Regions from separate parts of the Homo sapiens genome. Here region 1 is linked to region 2. Evidence: promoter capture Hi-C in human tissues and cell types (Jung and others, 2019). All regions are on one chromosome and are shown on one strand. The core of a region is centred on a gene start or on the middle of the fragment in contact, and the rest is flanking DNA. Distances in the headings are between cores, read along the strand shown.

Region 1 (2,855 bases), core at 281-2,780, 200 kb after region 2:
AAACTGAGGCGCAGAATGTGGCTCGGTAGTGTGGGGTGTGGCAGAAAGCTCCAGACCAGGCTCCAGTCCCAGCTCAGCCACTAACCTGCTGGAGCACCCTAGATAAGTCACTCCCCTCCCTGGGCCTATACTCACCCCTCCTGCCCACCCCACATCCCCATGATACAACACAAAGCGCTCCACTCCAGTCTCCAATCTCTCCCAGATTTCTGTTCCTGCGACTGTGACTTGCCCAGGGACCTGCTGGACAGGAGCTAGGGCAGGGTGCAGAAGCCCGTCCTTCTGTCCCCACTCTGAGCCTGACCCTGCTGTGAATCCCCAGGAGAGGGAGCGAGGCTGGAGGGATTAGGGAAGGGCCAGTGAGTGGGGCTGGGGAAACTTCTAGACTTGAACGCCTCCAGGACCCCAGTGGCCACAGCAGCACTGATAGCAGGAGGCAGCACTGCCCAGATGCTGAGCTGAGTGGGCACCAAGGCCAGAGAGCTGCTTATCAGGCATCACAGCCGCCCCGAGCCTGCACAGCTCACTGCCCCACAGAAATGTCTTTCTCCTGTGGCCAGAGCGGCCCTGAGCTCCTCAGGGTTTCTAGGACCTGTCACAGCTTCTGGGACCCCAACAAATGAGTGTGCAAAGACCTGTTCTCCTCAAAGTGCAAATAATACTGTAAGTAAGGGCTGATATTCATTGACCACCTACTGTGGACGAGGCGCTGCTCTGAGCACTTGACATACATTGTTTCATTCAATCCAAACCCCAATCCACTAGGTCAGTTTTATTCTCCCCATTTTACAGAGAAAGACAAGAAAGGTTAAGTCACATAGATGGAACAGGCTGATGCCAGAATGGACACCCTCAGCTTCCTCAGCCGCCCCAGGTTGACTCCATCACCAAGGGCCAGGGTCCCAGTGCCCCCAGGCTCTAGGAGCTGCTGTTTGGCTGGGGCTCCCAGGAGAAGGTGAAGCTTAATGATTTATGGGTGATTAGCTGCAAGAATGCAAGCACAGAAGACACAAACCTTTATGCCTTGGAAATTTGTCACAAGCCAACCAGTTGTTTTCCATCCCTGTGAAGCAGGAATAATTGGAGGTCTGACAGAAGAACTTCCCAGTTACCAGAAGGAGCAGCACTCATGTTCTCTCTTAGTTTTGTGTGAGGTGTTGCCCCTGCCTTGGTCAACAGTTTGAGTCAGAGAGATGGGGGCCGGGCACAATCCCCACCAGACGTTCCCATTCACAAGACCCTGTGGGGGCTGGGAGACGCCCTGGGGCAGCAGCCCTGGGGTAACCAAGGGAACAAACACGGAAAACCAGGGACGTCAGTCCTTATCTGGAGCTCATTAAATGGGGAACATTAGTCAGCTGTGAAGGCCAAGATAGGGTGATAGGCCTGTGGGTGGGCTGGGATGGGGCATGGGGGCAGAGGCCGCCATGGAGGAGAAGAGGTATTGGCCTCAACGACTCCACCTCCCCGCCACGTGCCCAGATCCGGGATGGAAGGACCCTATAAATGCCCACAACCCAGCCTCCCCAGAGGCCTTGAGAAAGAGAGCGATAGAGTGCGAGAGCGAGTGCCCGGAGCATCCTGGCCCTGAGACAGCTGGGCCAGCCCCGCAGGGCTCTGCAGCATGTGGGAGCTCCGCTCCATAGCCTTCTCCAGGGCTGTGTTCGCAGAGTTCCTGGCCACACTCCTCTTCGTCTTCTTTGGCCTCGGCTCTGCCCTCAACTGGCCACAGGCCCTGCCCTCTGTGCTACAGATTGCCATGGCGTTTGGCTTGGGTATTGGCACCCTGGTACAGGCTCTGGGCCACATAAGCGGGGCCCACATCAACCCTGCCGTGACTGTGGCCTGCCTGGTGGGCTGCCACGTCTCCGTTCTCCGAGCCGCCTTCTACGTGGCTGCCCAGCTGCTGGGGGCTGTGGCCGGAGCCGCTCTGCTCCATGAGATCACGCCAGCAGACATCCGCGGGGACCTGGCTGTCAATGCTGTGAGTAGCCACAACTTTGCCATCCACAAGGGGCAGGTCCTGGGGAATCCCTTGTAAAGGATGAGATGGGAGGGATGGGCTCTGGGTGATGTAGGGAGAGAGATGGAGACAGAGGCAGAGAGAGAGGCTGGAGCCAGGAACACAGCCACCATAGGAGGGTCAGGATGAAAGGAGCAATGATACCAGAGCAAAGCAGGATGCAGACAGACTGCTGGCTTCTTCCACCCTGACCGTCGTGCAGGAAGAGCCTCATCCAGGTTTCTGTTGGACTCAACGCCTACATTACAGTGAAGACAGGGCTATACCTCAGCAGGGGTTGGTGTCCCGAGCAGACATGCTTTCCAAGCTGCGGGGAGCCTTGGAGTGATCATCACAGGGTTCTCAAGAGAGAAGAGGGGCCCAGCATTTCTTCTGCTTTGAGGGTTTGCAGGTCCCGTGGCAGGTGCTCCTTACAGGCCAGGCACGGACACACCACAGCCCTGCAAGCAGCAATGGGCATACTCACTTCTCCAAACCTTGAGGAGGTCCCCGGAGCCCATAAGCTGGCTGCTGATTACATGATACAGGCGCTAACTGGGCCCCGTGGGCCCTTTGGGAGCTGAGGGTGGTGCCACAGTCCCTTCCCCCATGTCCCACCCACTTCCCCTCTCAAGTCTGTGTGGGCCCTGTGAATCCAAGGCCCATGAATGTGGAGGAATGACCTGTGCCCCCAACAGATCAACACTCACTCTGTACCCCCATCCTAAGCCAGGACAGTGAGTGCCTCTTTTGTGCTTGTTTCCGGTAGTTCCCGGCCTTTTCCATCCTTGAGCCACTGGACAAGAGTCCTGATGTCTTTGATGAGTCCCGCACAATCTCTGTGGGCGCCCCC
Region 2 (3,168 bases), core at 669-3,168:
TTTTTTTTTTTTTTATAAGCTGTTCGTGTGATTCTGTATGACTTAATGACTCTAACCTTTCTTTATTCTGCAGAGTGGAGACTGCTGCACGGACTCTGGAACCATGAACATATTTGATCGAAAGATCAACTTTGATGCGCTTTTAAAATTTTCTCATATGTAAGTGTTTTGACCTTGACTGGTTTTGTACTGCATTTCTTTTCATATCTCTTTGTCCCTTTTCTGCATTTATAACTTTTGTGTGTATAAGCTAACAAATTAACTTGGCCAGAATCCAGAGGACCTGATGAAAATGTCCAAATTCTACACGTTGCTGTGTGGTTATTGGAAAGGCATTTATTCTAGTTTGGGTACTGATTATTCATAATTTTGGGCATTTGGTCTTCCTCAGCATTTAAGGTTCTGTTAACCTATTTTCAAAATATTATTTTTTATTGTAATATGCTTTCCTAAAAGTATTTCAAACTATTTGTAACAGAACTTTTACATATTCCCAGGAAGGGAAAGAGAGAAATGATTCTTCTTAGCTTAAATATGAGATTGATCTGGGACTGATTGCTCTTATTCACATTCTTTTCTTAGAACCCCGTCAACGCAGCAGCACCTGAAGAAGGTCTATGCAAGTTTTGCCCTTTGTATGTTTGTGGCGGCTGCAGGGGCCTATGTCCATATGGTCACTCATTTCATTCAGGTAAGAACGATTTTCTCTCCTGGTTGCTGTGGTACAAATTACATTAGGAAAAAACCAGCTCAGCAAGGTGGTCCAAGGGACCCTGTTCCTCTCTTTAATCTTTATCAGTAGTTTAGGATTTAAACTCAGACATTAAATCAGGACATGTAAAGCCATTTTAATTTTCTGGCAACTGTGCCCCCTCTAGATACCGAAAAACAGAATGCCTTAACCTTGGCACTGAATGGTGTGCTGCTGACGTACAAGACCCCCACCCACTGAGTAGGCGCATGGCATGCATGCTGGGATTCTTTGGCACAGAAGCTTTTTTATCTTTTCCTCCATTCTTCCTTTACAAAACTCTGATTGTGTGATTAACTATCAGGAGAGGCAGGATTGAGATCTTTTTAAGGAATTGACCTGTTTTATTTTCCGATAACTGTTGTCTGCATGGTTGGGTAAAAACCTTCAACAATTTGTTTTCCTGTATTGAGAGAGAATCTGGGTTTGGTCAGCAGGAGTAGAAGGTACAGTTTGAGGAATAACCAGAAAGTTTGAAGACTCCCTAACATAGTCTTGTGCCTTTGTAGAGTATTCCTTTTAGCATAAATGTAGAGGTGGGCCTCTGTTGGCATTTGCCACTGTTGAGAACTATCCTTATGTTCAGGCATCTCCTGGCAGGGATTGTGTGAAAAATTACTTTAGACACTCAAAGGATAGGGCTTTGATCGCTTGAGTTTTAGGCAAGGTTAGCCCTTAAATAATTTAGTAAAATACAGTCAATCCTTGTTATTCACAGACTCTATATTTGTGAATTCACCTACTCATTAAAATTTGTAACCCCAAAATCAATACTCATGGCACTTTTTTTTTTTTTTTTGAGACAGAGTCTCGCTCTGTTACTCATGGCACTTTTTGCAGACAGTCACAGAGTGGTGAAAAAGTTGAGTCACCCTGCTGTTGCAGTGTTTTCAGCTGAGGTTGAACAAGACAGTGCTCTGCCTTCTTGTTTCAGTTCTCGTATTGTAAACAAATGTTCTTTTCATGGTCATTTAGTGCCACTTCCTTTGTATTTTTGTGCTTTTAATTGGTGATTTTGCTGGGTTTTTTGAGTGGAGGTCTTGTGGTGTCGTCCTGACTGGTCTCAAACTCCTGGGCTCAATTGATCCTCGCACCTCAGCCTCCCAAGTAGCTGGGAATACAAGCACATGCCACCATGCTTGGCTTAATTTTGCTGTTCAGAATGCAAACAGCATAGTGCTGAAGTGCTGTCTAGTATTCCTGAGTGCAGAAAGACCGTAATGTGCCTTATGAAGAAAATGTGTATATTAGATAAGCTTCATTCCGGCATGAGTTGTACTGCTGTTGTAACTGTGAGTTCAATGTTAAGGAATCAAAAATAATGTCAAATGAGGTGTCCTTAAACAGAAACACATATAAAAGCAAGGTATCTATTGATCATTTGATGAAAATGTTGTGACCTTAGGCTTGCAGGAACCTACCTACCTTTTATTTCCCTCAGGAACAAGGGTTTACTAATTCATTGTCCACTGTGATTTTATAACATAAACACTGAATAATGAGAATCAACTTCTTCCTTTAAAGGAAGGAAGGAACTTCAGTGTCTACGTCCATCCTTAATGATTTCTCTTTTTTCTAATGCCTATAGTTTTTCCCACTTGGCGTTTTTAAAAAAAGAAACACTTTTTTCTTACTACAAAGCTAATATGTGTTCATTTTAGAAAATTCAGAAAACAGACTAGCAATGAGAAGGAAGTATTTTAGAAACTTCCATAATCCCATCATCCAGAAATAACTACTGTTAACATTTTAGTACTTTGCAGTCTTCTGTATATGTATGTGTCTTGGTGTTTTGGTGTTTGGGGGTTTTGTTTGTTGGTTTTTGTTTTTTTGAGACGGAGTTTCACTCTTGTTGCCCAGGCTGAAGTGCAATGGCGTGATCTTGGCTTACTGCAACCTCTGCCTCCCTGGGTTCAAGCAATTCTCTTGCCTCAGCCTCCTGAGTAGCTGGGATTACAGGCGTGTGCCACCATGCCTGGCTAATTTTGTATTTTTAGTAGAGACGGGGTTTCTCCATGTTGGTCAGGCTGGTCTCGAACTCCTGATCTCAGGTGATTTGCCCACCTCGGCCTCCCAAAGTGCTGGGATTACAGGCGTGAGCCACCATGTTTTTTTTAAAGTGACCAAAGGGGGATCATTTCTATTTGTTCTACAGATGGAATGTACTTTAAGCACTTGTCACGTTTCATTCATCCTTTCTATTTTTTGGGCAAGACTCACTCATAGTTTGACTTGGGTAGTTGTACTGTAGTTGAAGGACTACGCAAGCCAGAAGAGCCTCCAGCATCCACCATGGTCCTAACTCTGTGCTTCAAGGCTTCTGGGTTATCTCCTCAGCCCCATCCCTGAGAAAACACTACTTTTTCTCCTGCCTCCAGGTTATAAGCAAATGTTAGGAAGTTCAGACGAGTGTTTGA

What was found. Contacts are between HindIII fragments. The study calls those that stand out against the background at their distance.
Region 1: a contact is called between the fragment with the promoter of AQP2 here and a fragment that was not itself captured in region 2, in 2 of the 25 tissues and cell types used here (IMR-90 fibroblasts and bladder).

The regions. Positions count from the first base shown.
Region 1 is chr12:49,949,207-49,952,061 of GRCh38, forward strand. AQP2 (aquaporin 2) reads left to right here and starts at 1,531. Exons shown (of 4, transcript NM_000486.6): 1 at 1,531-1,984. The coding sequence starts at 1,625. It overlaps AQP5-AS1 (AQP5 and AQP2 antisense RNA 2), which reads right to left. Exons shown (of 3, transcript NR_110591.1): 2 at 2,713-2,855; 3 at 2,306-2,463. The HindIII fragment of the contact is 7,583 bases long and covers 1-2,855 here.
Region 2 is chr12:49,752,391-49,755,558 of GRCh38, forward strand. It overlaps TMBIM6 (transmembrane BAX inhibitor motif containing 6), which reads left to right. Exons shown (of 10, transcript NM_003217.3): 2 at 74-159; 3 at 583-691. The coding sequence starts at 104. Among named protein-coding and RNA genes, the nearest start is that of TMBIM6, 12 kb to the left of the region's middle. RefSeq lists an enhancer at 1,461-1,550. The HindIII fragment of the contact is 5,198 bases long and covers 1-3,168 here.